Linked DNA regions of Homo sapiens: all the other regions are linked to region 5. The links are contacts of gene promoters, found by promoter capture Hi-C in blood cells and fetal thymus (Javierre and others, 2016). All regions are on one chromosome and are shown on one strand. Each heading gives the region's core, a stretch centred on a gene start or on the middle of the fragment in contact. The rest is flanking DNA. Distances are from core to core; before and after follow the strand shown.

What was found. Contacts are between HindIII fragments. The CHiCAGO score rates a contact against its expected background, and 5 or more counts as called.
Region 1: a contact is called between a fragment that was not itself captured here and the fragment with the promoter of POLR3A in region 5, in 6 of 17 cell types (naive CD8 T cells, non-activated CD4 T cells, total B cells and 3 more). The highest score is 10.8, in naive CD8 T cells.
Region 2: a fragment that was not itself captured here is called in contact with the fragment with the promoter of POLR3A in region 5 in 8 of 17 cell types (total B cells, naive B cells, naive CD4 T cells and 5 more); the score reaches 18.5 in total B cells.
Region 3: a contact is called between a fragment that was not itself captured here and the fragment with the promoter of POLR3A in region 5, in 7 of 17 cell types (total CD4 T cells, naive CD4 T cells, naive CD8 T cells and 4 more). The highest score is 20.0, in total CD4 T cells.
Region 4: a contact is called between a fragment that was not itself captured here and the fragment with the promoter of POLR3A in region 5, in 4 of 17 cell types (activated CD4 T cells, neutrophils, non-activated CD4 T cells and 1 more). The highest score is 7.4, in activated CD4 T cells.
Region 6: a contact is called between a fragment that was not itself captured here and the fragment with the promoter of POLR3A in region 5, in 1 of 17 cell types (activated CD4 T cells). The highest score is 5.4, in activated CD4 T cells.
Region 7: a contact is called between a fragment that was not itself captured here and the fragment with the promoter of POLR3A in region 5, in 1 of 17 cell types (neutrophils). The highest score is 5.0, in neutrophils.

The regions. Positions count from the first base shown.
Region 1 is chr10:79,340,491-79,343,340 of GRCh38, forward strand. No RefSeq gene overlaps it. Among named protein-coding and RNA genes, the nearest start is that of PPIF, 5.6 kb to the right of the region's middle. The HindIII fragment of the contact is 2,171 bases long and covers 377-2,547 here.
Region 2 is chr10:79,281,490-79,284,244 of GRCh38, forward strand. All of the region lies in intron 8 of ZMIZ1 (zinc finger MIZ-type containing 1), which reads left to right. Among named protein-coding and RNA genes, the nearest start is that of PPIF, 65 kb to the right of the region's middle. The HindIII fragment of the contact is 3,710 bases long and covers 1-2,755 here.
Region 3 is chr10:79,318,668-79,321,408 of GRCh38, forward strand. No RefSeq gene overlaps it. Among named protein-coding and RNA genes, the nearest start is that of PPIF, 27 kb to the right of the region's middle. RefSeq lists an enhancer at 1-241 and cis regulatory regions at 2,408-2,741, 2,434-2,741, 2,449-2,741. The HindIII fragment of the contact is 6,055 bases long and covers 1-2,741 here.
Region 4 is chr10:79,370,662-79,373,477 of GRCh38, forward strand. No RefSeq gene overlaps it. Among named protein-coding and RNA genes, the nearest start is that of PPIF, 25 kb to the left of the region's middle. The HindIII fragment of the contact is 2,962 bases long and covers 68-2,816 here.
Region 5 is chr10:78,028,115-78,030,814 of GRCh38, forward strand. POLR3A (RNA polymerase III subunit A) reads right to left here and starts at 1,401. Exons shown (of 31, transcript NM_007055.4): 1 at 1,250-1,401. The coding sequence starts at 1,293. RefSeq lists an enhancer at 1,321-1,570. The HindIII fragment of the contact is 13,008 bases long and covers 1-2,700 here.
Region 6 is chr10:79,429,152-79,431,883 of GRCh38, forward strand. All of the region lies in intron 2 of ZCCHC24 (zinc finger CCHC-type containing 24), which reads right to left. Among named protein-coding and RNA genes, the nearest start is that of ZCCHC24, 15 kb to the right of the region's middle. The HindIII fragment of the contact is 8,422 bases long and covers 1-2,732 here.
Region 7 is chr10:79,458,466-79,461,181 of GRCh38, forward strand. No RefSeq gene overlaps it. Among named protein-coding and RNA genes, the nearest start is that of ZCCHC24, 14 kb to the left of the region's middle. The HindIII fragment of the contact is 2,074 bases long and covers 303-2,376 here.

The DNA.
Region 1 (2,850 bases), core at 212-2,711, 1.3 Mb after region 5:
AGGTCACCTGGCCCCACCACTTAGCCCAAGCAGCCATCTTCTGTGGCATCCCTGCTTGGTATCTCTCGCACAGCTTCAGCCATGAGGAGCTTCTTACTTCAAAGTATCATTCTGCAATATTGCTGACTGGTAGGAAGCTTTCTGTCTAAATGAACCCAAATCTGGCTCCTGCTCATCCTGGTCAGGCCTATGAAGCCCCACTGTGGCCTCTGCCCCAGTGCAGCCCTCAACTCTCTAGAGATGGCATTGTGTCCACCCCACCACACTTCTACTGTGACCAGCTTTAGTTAGATCTTCTCCGAACACCCTTGATTCGCAGGGTCCCCTGCTCCTTGATTCTCTGCTGAATGGGCTGGGCCTGTCCCCATGGAGCTGAAGCTTCCGCTGTGATCCCGAGATATGCCTGGACTCACCCAGCCCCAGGGCCTGTGATACGGACCCTCTGTCCTAGGAACATAGGCTGCTAGTTGGTCAACTGTTTGAGCCTTTCTGCTCATCTACAATCTGAGATCTTTGTCACATAAATTGAGGCCTCTCTCAGCCTGACCTGCTGATCTTTTGTACTAAAATTCAACAGTAGCAAAGATAGCATTAGAGGCAGGAGCCAAGTTCTGGGATTAAGCAGAGCAAGGCCAAATACAGGCTGTTCCACTACTCACTTAACACAAGGGAAGACCCAGGTAACCTTGGATGGCTTATGACTTCTGCCCACTTTGGAGGCCCTATTTATAAAAAGTAGTTAATACTAGTACTTGTTCTCAAGGGCCATGTGGGGATTAAGAAATAATGTTATAAATCCTTACCATGTGCAGTGTATTAAGTGCAGCAAAAGGTAGCTATTCTTATTACCATAGTGCTTATCTTCTTCTTCTTCTTCTTTTTTTTTTTTTGAGACAGAGTCTCGCTCTGTCACCCAGGCTGGAGTGCAGTAGCTCGATCTCAGCTCACTGCAACCTCTGCCTCCTGGGTTCAAGCAATTCTTCCTGCCTCAGCCTCCCGAGTAGCTGGGATTACAGGCACCCACCATGACGCCCAGTTACTTTTTTTTTTTTTTTGAGACAGAGTCTCGCTCTGTCGCCCAGGCTGCAGTGCAGTGGCGTGATCTTGGCTCACTGCAACCTCCACCTCCCGGGTTCAAGCGATTCTCTTGCCTCAGCCTCCCGAGTAGCTGGGATTACAGGCATGCACCACCATGCCCGGCTAATTTTGTATTTTTAGTAGAGATGGGGTTTCTTCATGTTGGTCAGGCTGGTCTCGAACTCCCGACCTCAGGTGATCTGCCCGCCAAGGCCTCCCAAAGTGCTGGGATTACAGGCATGAGCCACTGCGCCCGGCCTAATTTTTGTATTTTTTAGTAGAGAGGGGGTTTCACCATGGTGCTTATCTTCATTTGAAGAAAAGACAAATACTTGTCATCAAGGGTGGACCATACTGATCAGAAGGTGGACAATATGGATCACAAGGTAAGCATTGTTGACCAGAAGGAGATTTATTCTAATGGAGCAAGGAAAGGTATCAATGTGAGTTAGTCAGTGGAGGTTAAGAGGGTCAAGTCAGTAGATTCATGAAAATTGCACAGACCAAAACAACAGACCAAAAAGGGAAACTGCAGAATTGGAGGCTGCTTGCTTCCTTGCACCCACAAGGCAGAGAGCCCAGAGCTCAGGTGAAGTCTGACTGAGCAGCATTTTAGGCTTGGCAAAGTCTTGGGCCCCACTCCTAGACAACTGGCAGTGGGATCCTCTCCTGAGGATAATGATGCATTGAGAAAAGCCACTGCAAATCAGTAAACAGTAAATAAAGGTGGCAATGGGGCATGCACCAAGGACGAATCTGGACTGGACTTGGCAACCTTGCGGGTCCTGCTGACCAGGTACTTTTCTATTGACTCTGGGCAGGGACTGTGTAAATGAAGTCAGTGTGTGTTTCTATGTTACCCAGCTGTACTGTTGGGTGTCGCCCTGCAGGGCTGAGCCAATGGTAGATTCTCTAGGGTGAGAAGACCCAGTCAGTGGGAGAGAGTGCAGATATGGATTCAGCCAGGCCTGGGTTGAAATCCAGCTCAGCCATCTGGTGTCCATCAGGTGGGGACAACAGACCCTCCCTTGCAGAGTTATCATGAGGACTACATAGGATCATAGATCTCAATCACTAAGCACAGTGTCAGGCTAGCTGGAAGAAAACGGCTGCGTGGAGGGGATGATGTCTGGCACAAGCCAGCTCAGAGGCACCACTCAGAGCCCACCTGCCCCTGGAGACACAGAGCCAGGTGAGTCAGGAAGAATTCCACTCTCCACTTGGCCCTAGTGTGACCTTGGGCACATCATTAATCTCTCTTGGCCTCCATTCCTTTATTTGTAAGACAGGGACAACAAGCTCCACTTTGCAGGGTCACCCTGAGGCTCAGAATGACATCTACAAAGTGCGGAGCCCAGCACGGAGGTATTAAGTGAGGCCCCGTCCCCTTCCCAGAGGCCAACAGGATGCCATGGCCAGACCCTCAGGCCCTCCCGCTGAGGACTCTCTCCCAGCTCCTCCACTCTCCCAAGCTTCAATCAGTCTCCCTCAGAGGCATGAGACAGAAATAACCAGCCCATTCCACGTCTTTACAAAGACAAGGAAGTCCTGTCTCTTGGACCAGTTCTCCCTGACCATGCCCGTGAGGTCCTTGCCAAGAGCTGGTGACCAAGCTTGCTGAGACAGCAGATCCAGGACTGGCTGTGCATGGAGCAATGGGATCTTCCAGGAGTCCTGGCTGGGGTGGGGTACTATGGGTATGAGTTATCCACTGCACATGGCAAATGACCCAACACTTAGTGGCTTCAAACAACAAACATGGATTATCTTGCA
Region 2 (2,755 bases), core at 127-2,626, 1.3 Mb after region 5:
GCCACTGGCCAGCACCCAGTGCCCTGCTGCCTCCATCACCATGGCCTCAGCTCTCTGTAAGTCCAGCAGAATGACCTAGAATGCAAAGCCAGTGGTCTGAGAGCTTGAAGACCAGGCTGGCACTTACTCTTTGGGCCATAAGTGGTCTGTCAGAGAAAGGAAAGCTGTGTGGGCTGGAAGACTCGCTGAGTACTGGTGGCTAACCAGTCGGTTCCGTGGAGCGAGGCTTCCTCGTGGGAGCACAGGGAGGTGGAGGGCCTGCTAGACAACATCCCACACTTTGAATGGCAGAACTGGAAGGAAAATTGGGCCCAGAGTAGGAAAGTGAATTGCCCCAGAACACACAGCCAGTAAAGGGCAGAGGAAGATATTAAACAGCGCACAGGGCTGTGCTATTTAGCTGGTCCTTCAGGGTCAACGAGGTGGTATCTCGTTGTTAACCCAATTTGGAGGGTCTTTTTAGAAGAGGGTCATCTGTTCTGATCCACAGCTCACCTTTTTCCCATTTAATAGCCCGTGTTCCTTCTCCAAGCCCCAGGCTATTCTGAGGACACGTTGTGGTTAGGCAATTGAAAGTTACACAGTCTCTCCTTGCAACCTTTAGGAATTTCACAAAGGATAAATCCCTCATTTCCAGGGAAACTGCAACGGGGTCCAACACCTCATAAGTCCTCAGTGCAATTTCCCAAACAAGACGGAAAGAAAATGGAAGAGAAAGCTGAGCGCTTTCACAATTAGCAAACTGTTTTAGTCCGTCATCCTCCATAATTTTATTGAATGGCTTGGAGGCAGGAAGCTCTTTTTGCCTTTTCATTAAGGCGACATTGAGCTGGAGGTGAGCTTGGGTGAGCTGGGACAGTTGAGATTTGATGCCCGCAGGTATCTGGCTGTTTGAAGGCTCTGGGTCTTTGTCTGAAGGCTCTGAGGACGAACAAATGGGAGAGGATGAGGGAGCCTGGACACTTGCAGCCCCGCCCTGCCCCGAGGGACGGCAGACGCCTGGAGGGTCCCTGGTGACTGTCATATTTGGAGAGCTCGGGTGTCACAATCATGTCTGCTGCAGGCTGCAGAGCTTTGGCACTGCGGCATGAGGCTGTGAGTCAGGGCCTGCTTTCTTCCACACAAATGCTGTGCCTCCCAGCAAGACCCTTGACCTCTTGGCCTCGTGGTTCCCTGCTGATGGGGGACATGGTGCCGCATGAGCAGGATGTCAGGAAAGGGTCAGGCTGCCATAGCCCCGCAGCTATATCTGGGGGTAAGGGTGGTGACGAGGAATACTAATTATCCTCAGTTTGTGGACGTCTGTAGGCTCACTCCCTGTTTTGTCCTCATCACTGGCTGCAGTGGGGCTGCCGTCTATACTCACAGATACCCAGGATACTATACAAGAGAAGGTGGCCAGAGAGGCCTGGCAAGGTCCAGGACCAGTGCCTGGGCAAGTAGGGCACCTTCCAAGTCCCTGCAGTGACCTGGACTTGAAGCCAGTGAAGTCTTTCAACCTCCTTCTTCCAGATTTTTAATGAGTGGTTTAAAAAGCCATTTGTGATTAGCACATTGTCCTTATGCAGATCAGTGTTGCAAAGGTAATTAAAGGCCTAATAAATCTTGTTTATGCTGTTAATTTGATTACAGTCAAAACTCGCTAGGGCTGGGGAAGCCTCCAAGATTGAGAGGTGCCTTCCTCCTTCTTATAGGTGCGGGATTTATGAACCCCAACAGAGAGGCTTCTGGGCGGGAGGGCCCCTGGCATCCCCTGAGTATAGCAGGTCGGGGAACAGGCCCTGGAGCCAGGCTGCTGGGCCTTGAGTTTCAGCTGGGCCATATTCTAGCTGGGTAACTGGCCAGTTACTTACCCTCCTTGTGCCTCGGTTTCCTCATCTGTAGAAGGGGAGTGACAACAGTGGCAGGAGTGGTGTGCTTGTCGCCAAGCCTGGCACACTGGGAGCCCATGGACCAGTCATTATTCCCCTGATCCTCAGCCAGGTGCCATCAAATTCTTAAGTGCTTATTCATGGCCAAACAAGAAAGAAGGGGGCAATCAAAACCAGCCACATCACACCATCTCCACAGCTGCCATTTTTAGCTCGGTTTTGCATAGCTTCACCAAAGCTCAGTTTATGTTAGGGCTTTGTTGCCCCAAGAACATTTTAAAAACAAAAAAAGAAGGAAAGGGGAGAATTGAAAGACCCATAAATCCCTGCACCATCAGTTCCAGATGGCCAAGATGCAAAGGATTTTTTCCTTTCCTCCTTCCTACTGAAAAAGTTTTAACACCCTCTAATATGCAGTTAGCTGCACAAGTTCCTAAGTTTCACCGCAGGGAGGGAAGGAAGTAGGCCCCAGTAATTGTGATGATGGAGAACACTGTTAATGGTTCCCCTAAATTAAACAGGGTGGGAGCTTCAGCTCCTCACTGGCTTGGCATTTCATTAGCAGTAACACTACAGCCTTGCACGGAGACGGGACCAGTATGGCTGGATCAGGGAAATTAATTAGAGTCTGACAATACCCTTAATGGAAATTGGTTATTTCTCCCAAATAAAGCAGCTATTACAAGTGCAAGGGAAGAAATAACTCAGCCCTCCCCCCGCGTTCCTTTCATGAATGTGTGTGTAGATGCTGCCATAGCGGGTGCACAGGAGCCAGGAATCATCACTGCCTTATCCCAGGCCTTGCTCATTTTCTCACATTCAGCAAAACCTCGATCATTGCCCGTGGAGCTGGCACAGACATGTAAACTGTCTACTGTGACTGC
Region 3 (2,741 bases), core at 131-2,630, 1.3 Mb after region 5:
ACCCTCCCCATACCTCTGCCTCCCGCCTCCCCGGGTTTAGTGGCCCAGGCTCTGGCATTGCAAGGTTCAGCTTGGTCTGGGCTCCACCCCTTGATGGCCAGTCTCTGCTCCTTCCCATGCAGGCTTCTCAGCCACAAAACTGCCAGTGCCCACTCTCTTTCTCTGTCACCCTTCATATGCCTGGTTCATGCCCCACCAGTTCTCTGACACTTCTCCTGCAAGCTCACCAATGGCCTCTTCGTTGCTGATCCACGCTGCTTTCTGAGACTGGACCTCACAGCTGCACTTGACAGTTGCCATTTCTTCCTTGAAGCTCTCTTCTCTTGGTGCTATGGTTTGAATGCTTGTCCCCCCCACCACAACTCATGGTGAAACTTAATCCCCGGTGTAACAGTACTAAGAGGCAGGCCCTTGGGTCATAAGGGCTCTGCCTTCATGAATGGATTGATGGATTAATGAGTTGGCAGATTCATGGGTTATCATGGGAGTAGGTCTCTTATAAAAGCCAACTTGGCACGCGCTTGCCCTCCTCGCCACATGATGCCTTCTGCCATACTACAATGCATCATGAGGCCCTCACCAGATGCAGCCACCCAATCTTGAACTTCCCAGCCTCCAGAAGCATGAGCTAAATAAACTGCTTTTCTTTATAAATTACTCAGTCTCGAGTATTCTGTTAGAGCAACAGAAAAGAGATGAAGACACTTGAATCCATGACAACTTCCTCTTTCATCTGTTTAGTTTTCCTGGCATCCCTCTGTGCCTTCCTTGTCTTCTCCGCAGGTTCCTATGGTAACTAGGTACTTGTGGTGCTTCATCAGGATCTTCTTCACCGACTGGCCCACCCATCCTGCCGCTGCTACGGGTGTTGGCCGCCAACAGCCCAGAACGTGCCCCTTTATCAGAGAATTTCCCTCAGCTCACAGAAACCTCCATGCCTGACAGGTTACCTGCCCCCTATCCCCACACATGCACCCCTGCCAGGCAGCGCACAGCCAAAATTGACTGCCACAAGGAATAAAAGGCCTCTTGGCTGGGGCATGATCAGTGCTCTCAAATCCTCCCTGTGGGTCAGGTCAGGGCTAGACTTTACCTGAGGCCACATGCTAACTCCACTCTCTCCCCTTCCTTGTTCTGCCTGCCTCCCTCATAGGTTTCTCCCAAGATCACTCCCTCAATAAATCATGGAATCAGCATGCCTGTCCTATGCTCTGCTCCTATCCAGATCGAAGACAGTGGGTGCTGGGAATGGGTCTGGGAGGCAGGCTCTGAGGATAGGATGCTGGAGAGGTACCACTGACCAGATGACAATGAGGACCCACCACTAGTGGCAGGAATTGGGTAGCAGTGTGCACCTGTGGTGAACTGGGATGGGACACAGGTGAAGGAGCTACACAGCCACAGCAATGTATCCGGCATCTGAGAGATATGGGCAAAGAATAACTATTAAGACTATGGACTTGCTAAATGTGGCTATTACTAAATGTCACCAATGCATTGAAGAAAGGAAATTACAGTTACAAATATCTTAACTGGCAATTTAGAGTGTGCGCATCAGAGGAAACTTCTTGGCAGGAAGCATTGGAAAGCGCTTACCTTCTGCAGCCAGAGGGCAGATGGAGTGACAATCAGGCAGAGGACTCATTGGAAAAGCAGCAGAACTTGAGTAAAGGCTGAATTCTCCATCAAGGGAGGTCTCCTATATCCAAATCAGGCCCCTGGTAGGGAAGGAGACACCAAGACTTGGGATGAGGACTGTCATACCAATGCCTCTCACAAAAAATGTTTATTATGACCAGCTGACAGAGAAGGGAAATTCTTGAGTTTGGGTCACAGATGGGTTGACTTGGCCTGTGGGTGTAAGCCAAAAATGGACTGAGCCTGCACTACAGTGCCATCCAAGGGTGGCCCTGAAAGATGTTGGTGAGAGAAAATCCCTCCAATAGGCAGAGATTTTGCCAAAGCACCTGGTCATCTCACGGCAAGAGAAGAGACCTGAAATAAGGATATACTCGTATTCATGGGCAGTGGTGAATGGCTTAGCTCTTTATTGGTCAGGGGCCTGGGAAAAACAAGTCTGGACTATCAGAGACAAAAAGGACTGGGAAAGAGGCCTGTGGATCTCTGAGAGTGGCAAAAAGTACGAAGATAACGTATCACATTTCAATACTCACCAAAGAGCATCCATTGCAGAAGCAACACCAAACAACCAAGTGGGCAGGATGACTCGGCCAGTGGACGTCAGCCAGTCTCTGTCCTCACTCGTCATCCTCCAACCAGTCCTTGCACCATATGGGCTCATGAACAGAGTGCCATGGTGACAATGACGAAGTTATATATAACCCTAACAGCCTTGGCTTCCTCTCCCCAAGGCTGATCTAGCTACTGTCACTGCTGAATGCCCAACCTGTCATCAACAGAGACCCAAGCTGAGCCCGTGATACAATAACATTCCAGGATGAAACCAACTAGCCACTTGGTGACAAGTTGATTATGTAGGACCCCTTCCCTCATGGGAAGGGCAGTGATTTGCCCAGACAGGATGGATGCATATTCTAGGTATGAATTCACTTCTCCTTCCAATGGAGCCTCAGGCCATTGGCACTATGGCTCACCAAGAGTCTGATTCACTGACATAGGCCCTCAGTTGACATCATTGCAGACTAAGAGAGCTGAGTCACCATGATTGCTGCATGGCAGTGGGCACACGACTGTGAAATCCACTGGTCCTTACACATTTC
Region 4 (2,816 bases), core at 299-2,798, 1.3 Mb after region 5:
ATGATCAATACATACTATTTAAAAAAAAAAAAGACTAAAGTATTTCTCCAGTGCCCTGTACTGATAAAGCTTCATATAATTCCAGATGGCAAGGGAGAACAGTTACAGTATTACAAACAGGACAATGTAGGGAGGACTTAGAACTAAGAGACAATGGACTGATAATGGTGCATTGAGCATTGCTTTCTTATCAAATCTGACAATCTCTGCCATTCAATTAAATGTTTATCACTTATATTTAATGTAATTCTCAATATAGTTAAATTTAAACCAACCATCTTGCTATTTATTTTGTTTGTCCCATCTGCCTTTTGTTCTCTGCTTGCCTTTTTTTGGATTGAGGTTTTTCTCCAAATTGATTTCATTTTTATCACCATTATTGGCTATTTGTTTATATATATGTATAAAATGACAAGTGTTGATGAGGATGTGGAGAAACGAACCCTCATACATTGTTGGTGGAAATGTAAAATGTCACAGCTATATATACATATATATAATATATATTTATATATATAAATATATGTTATATATATAAATATATATTTAAGAGCTGGGGTCTCACTCTGTAACCCAGGCAGTAGCACAATCATAGTTCACTGCCATCTTGAACTTCTAGCCTGAAGAAATCCTCTTGCCTTAGCCTCTCAAAGTGTTGGAATTACAAATGTGAGCCACCATGCTCAGCCTAATTATTCAGTCTATATTTTTAGTGGTTTCCCTAGGATTTACTATATATTGTTTAACTTATCAAAGACTAACTGCAAATAGTATTATACCACCTTACGTATTATGTATATATTGCTGAATCAAATGATTAGGTTTAACTTTTTTAGGAATTGCCAAACTGTTTTCCAAAATGGCTGTGACACTTTACATTTCCACCAACAATGTATGAGGGTTCCAGTTTCTCCACATCCTCATCAACACTTGATATTATCTTTTTTTATTCTTGCCATCCTAGTGAGTGTGAAGTGCTACTTCATTTATTTCTGACTTGCATTTCTCTGATGATTAATGAGGTTGAGCATCTTCTCATGTACTTATTGGTCAGTTGTATATTTTCCTTGGAGATGAGTCTGTTCAGATCCTTTGACTTTTTTAACTGGGCTATTTGTGTTTGTACTTTTGAGTTGCCAGAACTCTTTATATATTCTAAATACAAGTTCCTTATCAGATATGTGATTTTCATATACATTCTCTCATTATGTAGGGTGTTTCTTCACTGTCTTGATGGTGTCCCTTGAAGCACAAAAATTTTAAATTTGGATGAAGTCCAATTTATTTTTTGTTTTCAAAAGCACTTTAGGCTTCCACACACTATTTCAAAAATAAAATAAAATAAAAGTTCCTTTGTGGAGAGATTTGGATATCTTTCTCTTATGGATTGTTTCTCTTTCTGATGAGCCAGTATTCTGGGGACTGGGCAGGGTGGTAGCCTCTGATATTCTTGGCTTTCCTCTCCTAGCATAGAACCTGTGCTCTATGAGTGAGCTGGAGCAAGATTTGGGGTCCCAGTGTTTTTGGCCTTCTGAATCTGGGATGGAGCCACTATTCTATGGGTTAGGGCTGGGTGTAGAAAGAAACCCCCCACTTCTCAGCTGCACTCATCCAGAATTTAGCTTCTTTAACTTGGAGTTGGGAGAGATGGGCAAAATGTTATTGGTCTGCCTCTCCCACTAATATGTGAAAATACTTGATTGGGAAGTGAGGGGAGAGGGAGCCTTGTCTTTTTGGCCACCCTCACCTTATGAGAAGATTCCATTAAGCTGAGCTGAAGGTGAAGGAAAAGGGAATAGTTATGTGTCAAATGCCATAGACCTGCTGTTCTTATTGAGTTAGTTTTAGTGACGTCCCCACATACTATCTTTATAGTCATGATTACTGTTATGGTCAAGGGCTGCTTTTGCTCCTGGCCGGGAGATGAGCTCAAAGGTGAGCCAGGCCGAGGAGATGCCCCAAGGCAGAGTGGGAGCCTGACTTTCTTCATTTGCTCTATATCCTTAGGACAATTTCCAGAGACTTTAAAGGTTAATTTTTAAAAAGCAGTTTTCACCAACATTGCTTGTTTCACAGGCAAGTGGGCTCATGGAACTCTTCACATTGCCTCCAAGAAGTGGAACTCTTCACTTTTTTACTTTTAAGTTATTTGTATCTTTATGTTTCAAGTTGAATCTATTAAAAGGAATAACCTTAGACAAGTTAAATTTAACAGTTTAATTGAGCAAAGAGTGATTCATGGATCAGACAGTTTTTGGAACCAGAACAGGCTCTAAGAACTCCAGCCTGAAGTGTGGTGGGATACCCACATTCCCCTCCCAAGAGAAAGCAGCCAGGCCAGGTGCCCTCAGAGAGCGCCAGAGGAGGAAGGCGGGTCTGGCCTCAGCCTTCTTCTCAGTTTCAGTCTCCCCGACCAGGCCCTCCCAGGTCTAAGCAGGAGAATCTCAGACTGTTCCTCCCCACAATTGTGCAAGTGCTTACTGGACCCCATGCCCAAGAGAGCTGTGTGGTCCCCCATGCCCCTTTCTAGCACTAGCCTAATAAATTGTATTGATGACCCCAGGGCAGCCTGTAGGCTCTATCAACTCAACATGGAATAATCGACTTGGGAGCTTGTCAGAGCGAAGGATTCGAGATGGAGCCCAATGCCTGAGTTTGATACATTGGGACTGAGGCCTGGAAGATCACAAGGATGTGATCAAAGATAACAAGAATAGGAAGACAAATAGAAAAAATAGAAAGACAAATGCCACATGATCTCACTCATTTGCGGACTTTAAAAAGCTGATGTCATAGAAGTAGAGAGTATAATAGTG
Region 5 (2,700 bases), core at 151-2,650:
TAATTCTTTCCACCATGAATCAAGAGATTTTCCAGAAGGAGAACTCTTATCAAGATACTCTCCTGTTGAAAATCCTTCAAAGGTTCCTCACTGCCTACAAGATGACTTCTTAACACAGCTTCAAGTCTTCTGCTTCCTTCTGATCACCTGTGTTCTCTCCCTCAGGTCTGCTCCTTGAAAAAAGCAGTTTGGTCTGCTTTCTTTTGCCTGGACCCATTATGTGCTCTCAAAACCCCCTGGACCTACCCTTGTCATTGCACTTGTCGTACCCAGTGTTGACTTGTGTACCTTCTCCAACTAGATTAGGCAGTAAAAGTTTTATTCAGACCGTATCTTTAACGTCCAACACTGGGAATAACGCGCAGTATCCTCCTCAGTGTCTGCTGTAAGAATGATGAATTCACTTTTTTTTTTGAGACACCGTCTCACTCTGTCACTCAGGGTGGAATGCAGGAGGTTGCCCACTGCAACCTCTGCCTCCCAGGCTCAAGTGATTTTTCGGCCTCAGCCTCCCGAGTAGCTGGGACCACAAGGGCGCGCCACCACGCCTGCTAATTTTTGTATTTTTGATAGAGACGGGGTTTCGCCACGTTGCCCAGGCTAGTCTCAAACTCCTGAGCTCAGGAGATTCACCCGCTTCGGCCTCCTAAAGTGCTGGGATTACAGGAGTAAGCCACCGCGCCCGGCTGGATTCACTTTCTTACCGAGAACTCTAAGAAGGAGCCACCGCCTAATAACGTATTTCTGAAGGCAAAAGTCCGGATAGCAGCTTTATTTCTGACACTGCCATCCGTCGGCCTGTGGTACAGCTTTCTAGTGGGCAACCCCATCCTTTTGGTAAGCAACTACTGCCTCCGTGTCAGACGCTCTGCGGCTGACAGAATTAGAGACAGTCCCCGCCCCAGATTGCTCCCCTCGCTGCAGCAGGGGATAGTTCGCTGAAGAACAGGGATCATTGTATGACTTCAGGAGAATGCGAGCTTTGGCCCAGGGTGCACAAATCATTAAGGCTCAGGCCACTCCGACTTCTCCGCCCAAGTCCAGGGACCTCTCGAGGTGCTGAAATCCCCTCAGCCTGACCAATGCTCTTTGACCAACGCTGGTAGTTCTGGGCGCTGGTCACACCTATGGACTACTGGCCCTCCCCTTCCCATTGCACCCCATCTCTGACCCTGCAAGACCCGGGACCGCTGACCTCGGACCCCTTGCCCTATTTCTCAGCCCTTTGGCCACTCTTACTCCGTCTTACATTTTCTTGGCCACATCCGTCTCCCGGAACTGCTCCTTCACCATGATGACCGCTGCCGGGACGCCTCCTTGGCACTCGGGAGGCCAGATTAGAGAAACGATGCCCCCAGCACCTCCTGGGGCTGCTTCTGGACTCGCCGCTAACACATCTGCGGCATCCTCTCGGCCACCGTAGAGTGTCCCACGTGTCCGCTTCCTCTTCCGCTACTCGCCCGCGCGTCTGTCTGTCAAGAGAGACTTCCGGCATGCCTTTTTTTTTTTTTTTTTTCCCTTTCCCCGCACCGTCACCTGGTGGCGCTTACTGGAAGCCGCACCGAGGCGTGTGCTGTATTTTAAAAATCCCATTTCTGGTCAATTTCTCCACGTAATCAGACACCCGCAGAGAAACTGCATATAACTCTTTGCCTCAAGGCTTTTAGACAAGCAGAGGGCCAAAACTTGCATAAAATGGAAAATCATCATCATTAACATCAGTACCATCTAAATTAAGAGCTTCTAATTGTTTTAAGGGAAGGTGGAAGCTAAAATGAACCGGCCCATCCAACAGAGGGCACTATCTGTGGAGGACCAACAAAGGAAAACAGAGCGGAAAATATGGGCGCACATGTGCCTCCAGTTCATGAAGTTATTTGGAGGGAGGGGGGAAGAATTAAACTTACATTATTGATTACAAAAACAGTTGAAAATCTGTTAGAGTGAAAACAGCCATGGTAATCTACAGAAGAAAAGGGAGAATGGAAAGTAAAGATCATTCATGTCTTGAAATAAGTTGTCTACAGTCTGTGAGAACTTGTGGGAGGTGATCCTAGTGTGATATATTAGTGCATGAGCCTAGCAAGGAAATCACATCACCACAGGGCTTAGCGCTTAGAATTAGAACTAAGTCCTCATTATTTGTGAGAAACTCAAAACAGAACTTAACAAAAGTGTTTAACAACTTTCAATTTTTAAGAAGGGACGCTATCTCATTTTCAGACGCCATGGATCCTCACTAGCAAAACACAATGTCACAGACAAACGAGGCATATCAGGTTTTTCTAACTCATTTCGGTACTCCATCACTTAATCATGAAATAATGTTGACTATATATATATATATATATATATATATATAGTCAACATTATGGGTTTTTTTTGTTTTTTTTTTTTTTTTTTTTTTGAGACGGAGTCTCGCTCTGTCGCCTAGACTGGAGTGCAGTGGCGAAATCTCGGCTCACCGCAACCTCCGCCTCCCGGGTTCAAGCGATTCTCCTGGCTCAGCCTCCCGAGTAGCTGGGACTACAAGCGCCCGCCACCACGCCCAGCTAATTTTTGTATTTTTAGTAGAGACGGGGTTTTACTATGTTGGCCAGGCTGGTCTCGAATCCCTGACCTCGTGATCCGCCCGCCTCAGTCTCCCAAAGTGATAGGATTACAGGTGTGAGCCACCACACCCGGCTCTGATGTTTACAA
Region 6 (2,732 bases), core at 25-2,524, 1.4 Mb after region 5:
TTATGCTAAGTGAAAGAAGCCAGTCATAAAAGACCACATGTTACATGATTCTAGTTATATGAAATGTCCAGAATAGACAGATCTACAGAGAGAGAAATAGATGAGTGGTTATGGATGCGAGGGGATGGATGATCAAGAGGTGACATCTGGGCCAGGAGAGGTGGCTCATGCCTGTAATCCCAGCACTTTGGGAGGCTGAGGCAGGTGGATCACTTAGACCAGGAGTTTGAGACCAGCCTGGCCAACATGGTGAAACCCCATCTGTATTAAAAACAGAAAAATTAGCCGGGCATGATGGCAGCACCTGGATTCCCAGCTACTCGGGAGGCTGAGGCATGAGAATCACTTGAGCACAGGAGGTGGAGGTTGCAGTGAGCCAAGATGATGCCACTGCACTCCAGCCTGGGCAACAGAGCTAGACTCTGTCTCAAAAAAATAAAAAAAAGAGGTGATACCTAAGGAGTATGAAATTCCTTTTCAAGGTGATGACAATGTTCTCTGATTGAGGTGACAGCTGCACAACTCCAGGCATATACGAAAATCACTGAATTGTACACTTCAAATGGGAATTATATGGGAAGTGAATTGTATCTCATAAAGCTGTTCCCAAGAAAATCCTTCTACTTTTAAATATTATAGAAATTAGGTTCTAACACACTATTTCATTTGTGACACAGGTTTCTTTCTGTGGTTTATAAAAGCCCTGTCAACCCGTTCCTCCCTTCAGGGAGCCTTGCACTGAGCACCGCTGCGTGTGAGGTCCCTTGAGCTGGCGTGGTCAGATGGTGAGGAGCACAGAGATGAATCCAGCCCAGCACCTGCCCCTGGAGCTATGGCCAGGTGAGGGGTAGACAGCATCCAATCAGGTTCTAGCCTGCCCAAATACCTAGTGCCTTGCCAGATGGGTGCACTCTTCATAGTGACCCAAAGGAGAAAAAAATGCTAGCCAACATTTACTAAGCACTTCCTGTGTCCAGGCACTGTGCTAAGCACCTTCCATGCATAGTTTCACTATGTCCTCACAATACCCTGGGTGTCAGTGCTCTCCTTAGCCTCATGGGACAGGCGACGAAACTGATGCTGCGAGCCTCTGTCTGTCCTCCCACCACTCATGAAGGGAGGAAGAAGGTGCTTGGGCCTTCACGAGTCCAGGACAGAATCAAGTTTGGAATGGAGCCAGGAGAAGGCCTCAATCAGCTTGAGTGAGAAACTGAGGCCCCACAGACCATGCAGGTCTTAGCTTGGAGTGACAAGGAGCTTAAGGAGGCAAAGAATACAGAAATCCTGAGACTGGGGATCTCGTATACATTCTGCCCTCTCCACCTCCCCAAGACTGTAAAATGAGGCCTCTGCTCCTCCTTCTGCCGTAGAGTTAAGAGTCCAATATGAGATGATGATCTCTATGAAGGAAGATCCCACGTTAGCACTGTGCTGGAAGGTGCCAGGGACCTTCTGCCCCAGCATTTAGAAGAGCGCTGGCCCTGTCAGGAGAGAGGATGGTGCATGCATGTGCACATACACTCACACACACACACCACACACACACACACACACACACACACCCTCTGCTATCCCCGGGCCTCTGGCTCACATCCATTGCCTTTGGATATTGGTCACCCTGGGGGAGGCCCTGCCACCCTTCTCCAAAGCCCTTCTCCTGGTAGCATTCCCAGGCTACCAGCCCAGAGTAAGCATACCTCCTCGGGGCTCCAGAGCCCCTGTTGATGTCTGAGTGTCACCTGCCTGCCTGGATTAAAATCCCAGCTCTTCCATTGATAGCTCAATAATCCTGTGTGAGTCCCTTCCTCCCTCGAAGCATCTGTTTCCCCATGGAAAATGAGGCAAATAGAGCACTTAACACATAGAGTAGTTTCATTAAATGAAATACTGCTTGGAGAGCACTCAGCACAGTGCCTGTCTCCTTAACGGAGCTCAGTCTGGCTCTGCCCACTTCCCAGGCTGTAGGCAGGGGATGAGGGAGGGCTGCTGTGGATGGCTGTGTGCACATGAGCTGGGGGCCCCTGTGCTGGGGCTCAGCTGGACAAAGTGCAACAGGCTATGGACTGCACAGGCCATGAGCATGCCCTTAAGGACCAACTAGATCCTCAGTTGCCTGTTTGCCCCTCATTCTATCCAGAGAACCCCAGGGGGGCTGAGGGTACTCACTCTCTGCTGGGAGCCAATAGCCTCCTGCTTACTGTGTATATTGAGGGGGAGGACAGGACCCACTGGAGATGTGGGGTCTGCAGGAAAGTCGTCAGTGGGTCAGCTCCCACTATGTATGCAGAGTCTGGGATGGGGGCACACAGATCACCTGGGGACCTTGCTAAGATGCTGCTCTGAGAGCCTGCAATTGTAATAGCTCCCTGGAGGCACTGATGCATCTCTGCCAGGGCCGTACTCTAAGCGGCAAGAACCTGAAGCATGGTGTGGCCGTTTCTGAGCAGGGTTTGGGAATGTAATGAATGACAGCACATTTTGGCCTCCCACTGGTCCTGAAGGGACCCAGCCCCACCCAACCACACGTCAGTTTCCAACATCTGGAGGGGAACACTACATGCATTTCCAGAGTTTCCAGGATTCCATTTCCATTACAAACGTAAAATAAAAGTAATGCCACATTATAAAAAAAGTTGGAAAATAGGAAAAACTAATAGGAAAAAAAATCACTGATAATCTCATGCTGTACTTAAAATGACTACTACCCTCTTTTCCCAGGATCCCAAAACCAT
Region 7 (2,716 bases), core at 90-2,589, 1.4 Mb after region 5:
TTTATCTGAAATTACATTTTAACTGGGTGTCCTGTATTTTGTCTGGCAGCTCTGCTTCTGGAGTTTCCTCAGTTTGCCTTGGGTCATCACCTAAACTATCCTCCGCCTTGGTTTCAGTTTCTGAAAATGGGAAGCACAGTAGATAACGCTCAAGAAAGTTAGGAGGCTAGGAAAAATAAAAGTGCTTGGGAAAGTAGGAAAAAGTGTGACACATGCATGAGGTTGAGCAACTCTCATTCTGCAGATTAACAACCTCCAGGAGATGTGGAGATGGGACCTCTGTCCTCCACCTGCCCCAGCAAAGCTTCCCACCAAAGCTCCCCCACCCTCTTGTAGAATCCCTGCTTGGCCAGCCTCTTGCCATTGGCCACGCCACTTCCCACACTCTGCACTCAACTGCCTGCAAGCCCCGTCAGTCCCTTATAGTTTTACACGAGGGCACTGTCATTTTCTCCACCTTGAGGCTTGCAATCAGCCCGAATGGCTAAGCATTAGGATTACCATATGTCTTGGTTTGCTCAGGACAGTCCAGACTCATGCCTGTTATTCTGGGGTGAATGATCAATTAATAATGCTTCCTTTCACTTTCAAAAGTGGACAATAAATTATATGATGACTTATCACCATTTTGCCCTCTTCGTTCCTTAACTACCTCATCTCTAGGGACTGTTACTTCCACTGTACTCCAGTCCTCAAAGTACTCCTGGCCACACGCAGAACCGCCCCACCTCTGACACTGAAAAATGCAAACATATCTCTTTGATCATAACTCCAGTCCTTCCAACTCCTCTTACTTCTATTTAAAAATAATTATTTTTCTTATTTACCCTACATGTCTTGGTACATTTTGTCAATTTCTTTTGTCAGCATCCCATTAGTCCCATTGGCCTGGGCTAGAGGAGCCACCCCACTTGCCTGGAAAATGTCCAGTGTAGATTCATCCGTTCTCTGCCTTCTCCATACTGGCCTTGGCTGTCAAGGGCTGCTGGAGAACCTTGCACAATCACACAGGCTGGGGGCATTAAATTATCAGTCTCCAGCTTCCACTGGCTCTCAGCAGAGTTCAGCAAGCCTCCAGCTCTCTCTTCATGCTTCTCAAAGGCTATTTCAAACCTTTTTCCCTTTTTTGTTTTTTTTCCAGTTTTCTATCCCACTATCTTTTCATCCATCTGGGCAGGTGACTTTGTCTTTCATATCAGAGACTAAACAGAAGCCATTGAATGGATGGTTTCTCAACATTCTGCCACAAACCTTTCCACTTACCTGTATCAGGATCCATTTTGGGGGACCTCCTCTGTGTTTGGGAATGCTTTCTTCCCTGTCATTCATCCCATATCTTCAACCCTCCCCTCTTTCCTGTCCCCTCATAAGCAATGGAGCATCCCTGGATCTCTACCAGCTAAGGAAAATCCTTCCACTTCTCTAGCTACTCTTTCTGTCACTTCACAACCAAACTTGTATGAGTTTTCTACACTTGCTGTTTTCCCATCTCAGCCACTCACTCATCCCCAAATCTTCTGGACCTCACTCCTACTCCTACCACTCCACTGAGAATGCTTTGAGGAAAGTCAAGATTGCCCCCTCTGATGTTAAATTTCCCAGTTCACTGGCCACACCAGCTCTGACCTGAGCAGTATTTGACACTGCTGTTCACTCAGCCTGGAACTGCCTTGGCCTCTGATACAGTTTGAATGTTTGTCCCCTCCAAATTGCATGTTGAAATATAATCCCCAATGTTGGAGGCAGGGCCTGGGGCAAGGTGTTTGGATCATGGGAGTGAATCCCTTATAAATGGCTGTGTCCCATCCTTGTGGTAATGAGTGAGTTCTCATTATGTGAGATCTCATGTTTTAAAAGAGCCTAGCACCTTCCCCCATCTCTTGCTCCCTCTTGTTCTCTCTCTTGCCGTGTGACACACTGGCTCCCATTTGCCTTCTGCCACAATTATGAGCTTCCTGAGTCTCCACCAGAAGCAGATGCTGGCCCTATGCTTCACGTACAGCCTGCAGAACTGTGAGTCAAATAAACCTCTTTTCTTTACAAATTACCCAGTCCCTAGTGTTACTTTATAGCAATGCAAACAGACTAACACAGTTCCTCCTCTCTGACCACTGCCTGGCAATATCCTTTGCAGGCCTTGTTCTTCCAAGCCTTAAATGTTGGTTCTTCAGGATACTGAAATCTCTCAGAGGTACCTTATCCAGTTTCATTGTTCCAATGACCTTTGCGTTGGTGAATCCTGTATTGGTGTTCTGTAGCTGCTATAACAAATGGAAACCAAGGTGTCGGCAGGGCTGCCCAGCAGAAGCTCCACAGGAGAATCCATTCCTTGTCCCTTCTAGCTTCTTGGTGGCTGTTGACATTCCTTGACATGCAAGCTTGTGACCTCATCAGTCTGCCTCTGTGGCCACGTCACCTCTTCCTCTGTATGTCTGTTCTCTTTTGCGTATCTTTTAAAAGGACATTTGTCATTGGGTTTAGGGCCCACCCAGATAATCCAGGATGATCTCACCTTAAGAGCCTTAACTTAATTATATGTGCAAAGAAGCTTTCCAGGGATTTGAGGACAGACAGAGAGGTTCCAGGAATTTGATGTGGATATCTTTTGAAGGGGCCTACTACAACTCCCCTATCAATTATAAATAGGTCCATTTGCATATCGGAGAAAACCTCAAACTCATTATATCTTAAACAATACAGAAGTTTTTTTCTAATA